Linked DNA regions of Homo sapiens: region 1 is linked to region 2. Evidence: promoter capture Hi-C in human tissues and cell types (Jung and others, 2019). All regions are on one chromosome and are shown on one strand. Each heading gives the region's core, a stretch centred on a gene start or on the middle of the fragment in contact. The rest is flanking DNA. Distances are from core to core; before and after follow the strand shown. Region 1 has its middle 40 kb from the start of OR5H6. Region 2 holds the start of OR5H2 (olfactory receptor family 5 subfamily H member 2).

The links. Contacts are between HindIII fragments. The study calls those that stand out against the background at their distance.
Region 1: a fragment that was not itself captured here is called in contact with the fragment with the promoter of OR5H2 in region 2 in 2 of the 25 tissues and cell types used here (ovary and stomach).

Annotation. Positions count from the first base shown.
Region 1 is chr3:98,221,108-98,227,129 of GRCh38, forward strand. It overlaps the pseudogene OR5H4P. Among named protein-coding and RNA genes, the nearest start is that of OR5H6, 40 kb to the right of the region's middle. The HindIII fragment of the contact is 3,420 bases long and covers 1,738-5,157 here.
Region 2 is chr3:98,278,185-98,284,055 of GRCh38, forward strand. OR5H2 (olfactory receptor family 5 subfamily H member 2) reads left to right here and starts at 4,321. Exons shown (of 1, transcript NM_001005482.2): 1 at 4,321-5,871. The coding sequence starts at 4,719. The coding sequence ends at 5,648. All of the region lies in intron 1 of LOC105373999 (a long non-coding RNA gene), which reads right to left. The HindIII fragment of the contact is 8,138 bases long and covers 248-5,871 here.

The DNA of each region.
Region 1 (6,022 bases), core at 2,198-4,697, 58 kb before region 2:
ATTGGTCACATGATGCTCACTCCAAAACTTGCCAGCGCAACTGAGTTCCCATCCTCAATATTTAATGACCACTTACCCAGTCACCAAGTGACTCTTCCCTCCTTCATTAACCACTTTTTTTTCTCACCAAATATGTCACAGAATACTAGGGACTCTACATTCTGAATTCTTTTGAATCTATTTCTTTGACTTACCATCTCCTCCAATGACATCACATGGACTAGACCCTTAATATGCTTTTGAATCGCTTTGAGGGTATTTTCAAAATGCAGATCCCTAGACTCTGTTTCTGAAATAATTTCCACATTAAAACCTTGCAATCTGTATTTTTCATAGAAAAAACACTGCTAGGTGATTCTCATGTGTAATCTGATTTGGGATCACCTTGACTTTAGTAACAAGTTTTTGGTTAATATCCATGAGTCAGTTTCCCCTTCCTGTAGCACATTTTCTACACTATCAATCACTAAATTAAAAAATATGTTATGATGCCATTTCCCATCTTAAAACATTTGGTGCATGCTTATTATGTGAAGAGTGAAGTTTAAGATTTTTCACATGGCATTCATTTTATTTATTTTTAATCCAAAACCTTCAAAATCCTTTTCCATTAACATTGCATCCATGTACCAGACACAGGATATTTATGCCACATTCCATAGTGCACACACAAATTTAGTATATGTAGAGAATCCATCTTTTTAATCTAAATCTATTAATTCCTGAAAAATTGTCAAACTAAAATTTATCATTTTTTATTTCTTTAATGCCTCAAATGTATATTCATCAACTATAGCACTGATAAATAAACTTAGGAAACCTCTGATAATTGTACAGTTTATTTCAACACCTCTTCTTCCATTTCAACTCATAATACCACTGCAAATTTTCTTTCACATTTATTGCATTTTATTTTAGAGGACATGCAGTGATGACATGGAAGAGGAAAATGCAACATTACTGACAGAATTTGTTCTCACAGGATTTTTATGTCAACAAGGATTTTTATGGGAAATACCCCTGTTCCTGGCATTCTTGGTAATAGATCTCATCACCATCATGGGGAATCTTGGTCTGATTTTTCTCATCTGGAAAGACCCTCACCTTCATATTTCAATGTACTTATTCCTTGGGAGTTTAGCTTTTGTGGATACTTGGTTATCATCCACAGTGACTCCGAAGATGCTGATCAACTTCTTAGCTAAGAGTAAGATGATATCTCTCTCTGAATGCATGGTACAATTTTTTTTCCCTTGCAATCAGTGTAACCACAGAATGTTTTATCTCGGCATCAATGGCATATGATCGCTATGCAGACATATGCAAACCTTTACTTTATCCAGTCATTATGACCAATGAACTATGCATCTGGCTATTTGTCTTGTCATTTCTAGGTGGCCTTTTTCATGCTTTAATCCATGAAGGTTTTTTATTCAGACTAACCTTCTGTAACTCCAACATGATACAACATTTTTACTGTGACATTATCCCATTGTTAAAGATTTCATGTACTGATTCTTGTATTAATTTTCTAATGTTTTTTATTTTCTCAGGTTCAATTCAAGTTTTAACCATTGGGATTGTTTTTGTATCTTATATGTTTGTTCTCTTTACAATCTTAAAAAAGAAGTCTAACAAAGGCATAAGGGAAGCCTTTTCCACCTGTGGAGCCCATTACATACCTCTCTCTTTATGTTATGGCCTCCTTCTCTTCATGTATGTGGGCCCTGCAGCTCCACAAGCAGATAATCAAGATATGATGGAGTATCTATTTTACCCTATCATTGTGCGTTTGTTAAACCATATTACTACAGCCTGAGAAATAAGCAATAATAGGTTCACTCACAAAAATGTTAAAATAAAATATTTGCATTGCATACTTATCTCTCTTCTCTATTCAATAAAATAGTTACAAAATTATGCTAGTTTGAGGTACCTAAGTTTTTGCCAACTTTCAAATTTTTTTGTAATTATAACTGTCCTAGCACTATAATGACTTAACATGTTAGAACCTAATTAACTAATTAAAATATTCCTATATGTTATGCAAAAGCATTCAAGAAATTTTAATCATGTCATAATGACAGCAGAAAGCAAATAAAAATATTTTATAGATTGTATGTTAATCAATATGTCTTTATCAATGTATTAAACGCTAAAATTATCTAGTTCATCTGATAAGGACTTGAGTGTGATGCTTTTGATACTATTACAACTATATTGCCTGAGACGCCCATCACATTTAACTCATAGTGGAGGCAAATTTGTGTTTGTGTGAAGAGAGGTAAATCCCAATAATTCTGCTAGTCCTCAAAAGGACTTTCATTTCACTTTTGGGAAAGGGTGAATTCCACTTCTTGTATGAAATCAACTCACATTTCCAGTAAAGAAATAAACTGAAATTGAAACACAATTAGAAATAAAATGAGAAAGGTGTTAACAGGTGTAAGAGAATGCTGTTAACTCATTGTGCTTATATGAGCAGGAAAAGAAAAGCTGCCCCTAACTTTCTATATTTGCTTCTAACTTCCTTTCTAGCATGTTTATGTTTTAGACAATCTGAAACTCTTCCCTAATTCAGAAAATTAAAAGGTTAAATAGAAGAACTAATATGAAGTAGGCATAGAGAAGAAAAGATAAGTGGCGTAATGGGAAGAAAATGGTCTTAATCTTCCTAGAAAAAAAATGAAGCTACTAAGATTTTTTAAAGAAAAAGTCATAATACAAAGTTACTGGAATGTGTTCTTGACAACCCGGGGCTTTAAATTCACATCACCAAAGTTCAAATAATGTTAAGATGATATGACATCACAGTGCCCAGTGAGTAGAGGGAAAAAGATGGACATGAGAAAGAGTTTGGATATTTTCTGCCTCAAAAAGTCTTTGATTGTTAGCCTTCTTCACACTTCATACTCTTGAATATATGAGTCATTCATCGACCATTCCACTCTGTCAAAAGATGAAGATGTTTAGACGCCAAAATTCCTTTCACATTCTTACTGATACCACTGAGGCCCTTACTCTAACAACTATTCACATATTGTTTTGGAAACCTCTAGTTACTTATTTCCTCCATCCTCTAGCACTCACTTACTTCCCCAACATTGCTGTCAGATTGTTTTTTGCAAACAAAACTCTAATGAGTTATATCTCTTTTCAGTGCCTCTTGTTGGATTGTCGTTGATACCTGATTATATGCATGTATGTTTCAGGTATCAATATCTATGCACATGTTTATTTTTTATGTGTATGTAGAGTCATGTAATATATATACATAGATACATATATAGTTAAAATATGAATGTAGTGGCACTAGAATTTAGTGGTTATTTGAGGAGATGGTGATGTATTTTGCAACATGAGACTGCATGTGGTTTGGGGCTTTTTGAAGGGGCAAGAGAGGAGATGAAGGTTCTTTTTTTTAATTATACTTTAAGTTCTAGGGTACATGTGCACAACGTGCAGGTTTGTTACACATGTATACATGTGCCATGTTGGTGTGCTGCACCCATTAACTCGTCATTTACATCAGGTATATCTCCGAATGCTATTCCTCCCCCCTCCTCCCACCCCACAACAGGCCCCGGTGTGTGATATTCCCCTTCCTGTGTCCAAGTGTTCTCATTGTTCAATTCCCACCTATGAGTGAGAACATGTGAGATGAAGGCTCTTATAAGGTGAATGCAGAAGGAATGCAAAAAGAAATATTTTATTGGTTAAAGTGGAGCAGTAGCATTATTTCACTCCAGTGAAAAGTCCCTAGTTAGGGGTGAGTTGGCATTTTCTGGTTGTTTAAATTTAACTTTTGTTTTACCTTTTACACTGAATTGCATTTCTGTTTGCTTAGACAGGAACCCACTTTGCTGGAGCCACTTCATCCTAAGGAACTTTTACTTAATGATATTAATTATTTTTTCCCTTTTGGTCAGCCTCCCTCTCAGTTATGAATTATTGACAGAAACTCAAGCACACAGGCCGCTTTTTCTGGTTTGTCTCTGTCTCAGCATAGAACTCATAAGTTATAATTTCTAGTCTCTTAAGGAAGCTTCTTTTTCAGTTATTTTTTATTTATTTATTTTTTAAATATTTTATTTATTTTCTTTTTTTGCCGTTCTAATCACAGTGAGAAAACCTGGCATACTTTGATGGCTATAAGACTACTGAGAAAATACAGCATACCAGGAAGATTACAGTGATGACTATCACAAGGAAAACAACAAGGTACTGGTATATACTCGATAGCCAAAGTGCCAGTGAACCAAACCAACAGAAATAAACCAAATAAAAAGAAAAGGTTAATGGTTATAACAATCTGTGAATTTAGTATTGAGCCCAGAGAGCAGTTAGTTGAGAAGATTTTTAGATTTAAGCTCAAAGCAACTTTAGATGATGAAATAAAATGGTAGTTGCAATCTAATGATTTTTCTGGTTAGTAATCTGAATGTCTCTGTTTATGTCAGGTATGTCCAATGTCTTAGCTTCCATGGGCCATATTGGAAGAAGAATAATTGTCTTGGGCCACACATAAAATACATTAACACTAATGATAGCTAAAAAATGATGAGCTAAAAAAATCACAAAAAAATTCATAATATTTTAAGAAAGTTTATTAATTTGTGTTGGGCCACATTCAAAGCCATCTTTGGCTGCATGCAGCCTGTGGGCCACATGTTGGACAAGCTTAGTTTATGTCATTGGATGTTTTGGTGAACTTCCTTAGCAGCCCACACAGCAGCATGCATGAAGATTGTCCTCTGAAGTTTATATCAAGTTGCCCAGCCCTAGCTTGCAGGGCTTCAGGAATAGGGCAGTTTATAGGTAGATAATAAAACCTCAAAGACAATGGACAGAACAAGAAGTTAATAATGGGTGCATTACAGTTATCTACTGAAACATAAATCTTCCCTCTATAGTCACACCCATTTCTTTCAAATATAGTTATAGTAAGATTAATTTGTTTACAAAACAAGTCTACTCTCATTAAACTTCAACTGAGTATTTACATAAGTGCAGTAGGAATAGGATTGATCATCTCTTTTTAAGTTTACCTTGTTAGAACTTTTAATAAATAATCTCGGATTCAACTTTAAAAGCCTGTCCAGGCTATGAAATCATACCAAGAACATAAAATCAGTGTTTACCTGCAATATCCATAGAATTAGCTAAACTCTCCTCTACTCAAAATAGGTACTAAAAATATTTTTCAGTTTCCTGAGCCTTCCAGAAAGTGACCTTCCTCTCAAACAATAAGGCTGGAAAACTTGTGAGCAGATATCAGGTCGGTTTTTCTGAAGGTACTTGCTGCTATTTGATTGGATGGACCACTCCAAATCCCATGGTGAAATATGAATCTGAATGTTGGAGGTAGGACAGAATGGGACGTGTATGAGTCATGGGTACGGATCCCCCATAATAATGGGTGAGTTCTAACTTTCTTAGTTCCTATGATGGCTGATTGTTAAAAAGTGCCTGACACCTTTGCTTCCTCTCTTGCCTCCTCTCTTGTCATGTGATCGCTGCACATGCCAACTCCATTTCACCTGCCTCCATGAGTGAAGCAGGCTGAAGCCCTCACCAGAAACAGATGTTAGTGCAATGTTTCTTTTATAGCCTGCAGTATTTTAAGCCAAATAAGCTTCTTTTATATATGAATTACCTAGCTTCAAGTATTCCTTTAAGGCAACACTGAATGGACTAAGGCAAGGCATAATTAGCTTCATAAAGTCAATTCCTTAATAAAGACAGTTCCTTAAACTGTCTAGTCATATCTAATTCTACACACATTCTCCAATATGACATTCCAGTCAAAGTTGTGGTCATACAACCAATGTTTCCAAATGTGTTATCTTACAAGAAGAACAAATTCTTATTAAACTTTCACAAATACCTATATTGTCATCAAAAGTAGAATACTCAGTTTCTGAATTCTGGATAGATCAGCTAGGGAGAGATAGGTAAATGTTTTAATTCTGTTTACAAAGGGTATACTTGACCAAATTTCTGATAAAGATTCTTTAAATCT
Region 2 (5,871 bases), core at 3,071-5,570:
CATATTAAATATAGGCATATAAATAAATATATAAAATTAGTACAAAGAAATAAATATATTTTTATTGAGTATTTTATTTATAAATAATACTAGTAATTCACATATATACATCTCAGAAAATATACAGCAAATATACTTCCCCTACCTTTTTTGACATTTATAGTTTTAAAAAGTACCTGCATAAATTGACTTTGAGAATGTGTGATTATATTGTTAATTGGGTTTGAATGGAATAAACCAATTATATAAAAATTTACATAAAAAGCGGAATTATTGCCCTTTGTTCTTTATATAGTCTGCCTCAGGATCCCGTCTTTGGTTTATTTAATTCTGCTAAAAAACAAGCAATCAAACAAAATGCTGATGGAGAATAAAGTGCTCTCACTATCAGCAAGATTTCTTGAGAAATTTCATTTTAAGCTCCATAATAATAAAGATATAGCAACATTTGAATATGGAATAAACTTTCAGACAGTGCCAATATGGTCATGAACAGTGGAACATTTATGGGTAAAATTTTAAGTAAAAGTCTCTTCATCATACACAAATTCCAAAGGGAAACAAACTGAATTTTTTAAAAAAGAAAGTGAAAATACTCTCAGAGCTCTCTGTCATATTCATGAACATCAGAGTTAATGCACACATTCAACCCAAGCTTCTGAGCTTTTCCCTTTATTTGCCTCTATGTTTCTCTCAGACTTCCTCTCTATCTCTTTTTTGGCTTGTCTTTTTTGCACTTACCCCTATATGGCATAATTATTCTCAGCCTATTTTTCTTCCTCCTTCTTATTTTCACCCACACAAATTTCCCTTTCCACTTTTTCTGTCCCTTTTCTCCTCTAAATATCTTGCTGTCCTCTGTCTTGTCTATATTTTCTTTTGAGAACTTTTCTTAAATATTCTACAGAAGAAAAAATATTAAACTAGTGTATGAGCAGCAGACAAATGCTAACCATTCTCCACATTTCATAGAGTACTCTATTTCATCACCTCACTGTTTTGCCATTTGTTTCCCATTCACGTCTTATTTGCTGAACTTTATTCCATTATATAAGGGAAACTGCTCTCACTAAAGCCACTAAAAAATCATGTACATTCTCAGCACAGTGATTTTCCTTCACTTCTTGTCCTACTAAACCATTTATTTTGGCATTTGGCCCTGTACTTCACTTTGTCATTCTTTGTATCTTTCCTTTCTTTATGTCCCCAACACTCAATTCTCTAGTTTCCCTCCTGCTTCTTCCCTTGATCCTTCTGTTCAATATCCTTTTCTGTTCTCTCCCTCATCTCTCTTTTGAACATCCAGGTTTTGGGGGGCTGCAACAGGAAATAAGTTATTGAATGGATATTGAGTTTAACATATAAATGCTAGGAAAGTTGGAGAAATTCACTGGAAAACAATGGCAGGAACAGAAGGAAGCAAGGCAGCCAGTCAACAGCCAAAATCCTGTTCCAACAGTAGCTTCATGAGTGTGGTTTTTTCTGCTGCTGAACTGCCAATGACACAGCTTATATTTTCTGTACCATTGTTTTTTAAATGCAGGGTGCATGTTCTGAGATCTTGAAATTTTTGCTTCAACTGCCTTTGTACTAATTTTTTTTTATTGTCCATGCACATTTGCCTCCATTTCTCTATATCCAAATCTAGGTTGAGTGGGTTTGATTACACATACCAAAGTCAAATCCTTTGTCTGCCACTAAGATCTGTGTGGGAGAGAAAAAAGTATCAGATGTTGACCATCCAATAAATGACATCCATTCCCTATATTACCTTTCAATATAACTCCTCAAGCTGTTTTTCTTTTTTTTAAAAAAAGTCAACTTTTATTTTAGATATAGAGAGAATATATGCAGGCTTGTTACATGGGTATATTGCATGCAGTTAGTGAGCAGAGTACTCAATAGTTTTTCCACCCATTCTCCCCTCCGTCTCCCATGTACTAGTCCAAAGTGTCTATTGTTCTCATGTTTATGTCCATGTGTGTTCAATGTTTAGCCCCACTTGTAAATAAGAACGTGTGTCATTTGGTTTTCTGCTCCTGTGTCGGTTTGCTTTGGATTATGGCCTCCAACTGCATCCATGCTGCTGCAAAGTACATGATCTCATTCTTTGTTATGGCTGAGTAGTATTCCATCTTGTATATGTACCACATTTTAAAAATCCAATCCACCCCTGCTGGACACCTAGATTGATTCCATGTGTTTACCATTGTGAATAGTGTAGCAATGAACATAGGAGTGCATGTGACTTTAACAACAAAGACAGCATGGTATTGTTACAAAAACAGACACATAGACCAATGGAACAGAGTAGCAAACTCAGAAATTAAGCCACACGCTTGGAATAATCTGATCTTCAACAAGGCTGACAAAAAACAAGCAACAGAGAAAGGATACCCTATTCAGTAAACGGTGCTGTCATGGCGGCTAGCCATATGTGGAAGAATGAAACTGAATCCTTTCCTTTCATCATACACAAAAATTTATTCAAGATGGATTAAATATTTAAATGTAAGACTTCAAAATGTAAAAATCCTAGACGAAAACCTAGGAAGTATTCTTCTCAACATCAGCCTTAGCAAAGAATTTTCGGCTAAGTCCTCAGAAGCAATTGCAATGAAAACAAAAATTGACAAGTGTGACCTAATTAAGGTAAAGAACTTCTGCACAGCAAAAGAAATCATCAATAGAGTACACAGACAACCTACAGAATGACAGAAAATATTTGCAAACTATGCATCCAATAAAGGTCTAATATCAGAATCTATAAGGAACTTAAACAAATCAGCAAGCAAAAAAATGTAACCCTATTAACAAATAAGCAAAGGACATGAACAGATCCTTCTCCAAAGAAGACATACAGGCAGTCAACACACATAAAAAAGAAATGCTCATCATTAATCATCAGAGGAATGCAAATCAAAATCACAATGAGATACCATTTCACACCAGTCATAATGGCTATTATTAAAAAACAAAACATGCTGATGAGGCTGTGGAGAAAAGGAAAGGCTTATACACTGTTGGTGGAAATACTTTAGTTCAGCCACTGTGGAAAGCAGCCTGGAGATTTCTCAACAATTTGAAACAAAGCTACCATTTGACCCAACAATCCCATTACTGGGTATATACCCAAAGGAAATTAGGTCATTATACTATCAAGTATTTTTGGTGCTATGCTTTTCTTTTCTTAATGTACTCTCCAATAGGTAAGACATCCATTACTATGCCTTCAACTACTCCAGTGACTCCCAAGTTATTTCTATCACTCTAGTAGAATTGTATTACTAATACCAAACATCTCACCTACATATTCAAGGCATGCTCACACTGCAAACTTGTCAATGCCCCTGAGTTCTCAGTCTCTATTTTGAATGACAATCTACCTACTCACAAAGTGACTCCTTTTTCCTTCACTGAATACTACTTTTCTATCAAATATGTGACTAAGTCCTAGTGACACTACTTTCTGAATGCTTTAGAATCTATTTCTTCATCCTCATTATTTGCAAGATTATAATACACATGGACTAGGCACTTGCAAACTTAAAATTCAAAGCCCCCCATCAACAGAACGAACCCCCTCTTGGCCAAAAGTTCTCCAGAAAAACTGTAAAAACTTAGTTCTCAGCCATGACAGGGTGGGAAGTCAGATGTGCCTTGTTATACTTCCTCTCTTTTGCAATTTAGACATGACAACTGACCGGTATTAATGTTAAGATAGAGATTATAAGACTGACAGAACATATTCTTTGTGACAATAAGATTCCAAATTATAAACAGAACCTAAGGCCACACCAGGCAAGGTTTAAGTCAGGCACCTCTACACTTAAAGAATAAACTGTGTTCTAACTGCCACAAGGTTTTTCTTTTTCTCTAGTAGCTAAACAGGCACTGGCCTCAAGACAAGCAGGATTAAAACAATTTGCAGCTGCACCAGATGCTCAGTAACTGAACCCCTGCTACCAGACATAACTACAGCTTTGATTGGACAAGAGACTGATGTCAGTAACTTTCTCCAGATAAGAGGAAAACTGACCACGGACTGGTTCTGGCTGGTTTACAGAGACAGTGCATTTATGGGCCTTCATGTCCTGAGAAGACCTTTTGATGTATAGGGCCTAACTGTAACAAATTTAAATGTTAAGTCTCCACTCCAATGTGAACATGGGTTGTATGTTACATACATGTTCAATATGCATGTGCCAAGGCTACCTTCATGAATACTCATAGATCCTCCCGTAACCTGTTGAATATGTATATTTAGCCAACTTATTTAGCCTAAAGCTCCTACCTCAAGCCCTCCTCCTTTGATGTGCCTGTTTCTGGTCTTGGCCAGAGGCATGCTTCCCAGCACACTTGATGGCCACCTTGCAGGCTGTAACCCCTTATAAGAAATAAGTCTTCTCTCCTTTTCTAAATTTACAAATAGTGATTTTCTTAAGTTAACACACATTACATGCATTTCTATCATCTGCATTTTAAAAGTAGATTATTTGATCACATTTTTAGAATTAAAATAATTGCATTTATTTTGATTTCTTATATTTCCCAAAACAGTTTCCATCTATTACAGGAATATGAAAGAAAATTAAAAGGGTATTGTAATAAGAGTATGTTTTTCTATCAACTTCCCTCCCCCAGTATTTGCTGTATAAGTCTTAGTGAATGCTCTTTTACATTTACTGCATTTCATTTCAGGGATGTCGAATGAGGACATGGAACAGGATAATACAACATTGCTGACAGAGTTTGTTCTCACAGGACTTACATATCAGCCAGAGTGGAAAATGCCCCTGTTCTTGGTGTTCTTGGTGATCTATCTCATCACTATTGTGTGGAACCTTGGTCTGATTGCTCTTATCTGGAATGACCCACAACTTCACATCCCCATGTACTTTTTTCTTGGGAGTTTAGCCTTTGTTGATGCTTGGATATCTTCCACAGTAACTCCCAAAATGTTGGTTAATTTCTTGGCCAAAAACAGGATGATATCTCTGTCTGAATGCATGATTCAATTTTTTTCCTTTGCATTTGGTGGAACTACAGAATGTTTTCTCTTGGCAACAATGGCATATGATCGCTATGTAGCCATATGCAAACCTTTACTATATCCAGTGATTATGAACAATTCACTATGCATACGGCTGTTAGCCTTCTCATTTTTAGGTGGCTTCCTCCATGCCTTAATTCATGAAGTCCTTATATTCAGATTAACCTTCTGCAATTCTAACATAATACATCATTTTTACTGTGATATTATACCACTGTTTATGATTTCCTGTACTGACCCTTCTATTAATTTTCTAATGGTTTTTATTTTGTCTGGCTCAATTCAGGTATTCACCATTGTGACAGTTCTTAATTCTTACACATTTGCTCTTTTCACAATCCTAAAAAAGAAGTCTGTTAGAGGCGTAAGGAAAGCCTTTTCCACCTGTGGAGCCCATCTCTTATCTGTCTCTTTATATTATGGCCCACTTATCTTCATGTATTTGCGCCCTGCATCTCCACAAGCAGATGACCAAGATATGATAGACTCTGTCTTTTATACAATCATAATTCCTTTGCTAAATCCCATTATCTACAGTCTGAGAAATAAACAAGTAATAGATTCATTCACAAAAATGGTAAAAAGAAATGTTTAGATTTCATAGTGATATCTCTCATTTTCAGTAAAAAGAATTTTGCAGTTAGATAAGGTGTTTTGCTAAGTGTTCAAAGTTATTGTAAATATAATTGTTTTAGCATTTTAATGACTTAGGGTTTTATACCTAATAAACTCCTTAAAATATTTATATATGTTATTCAAAAGCATCCAAGGAATTTTAACCTGGTGTTCATGTTATATTAGATAATTAAAGCAGAAAA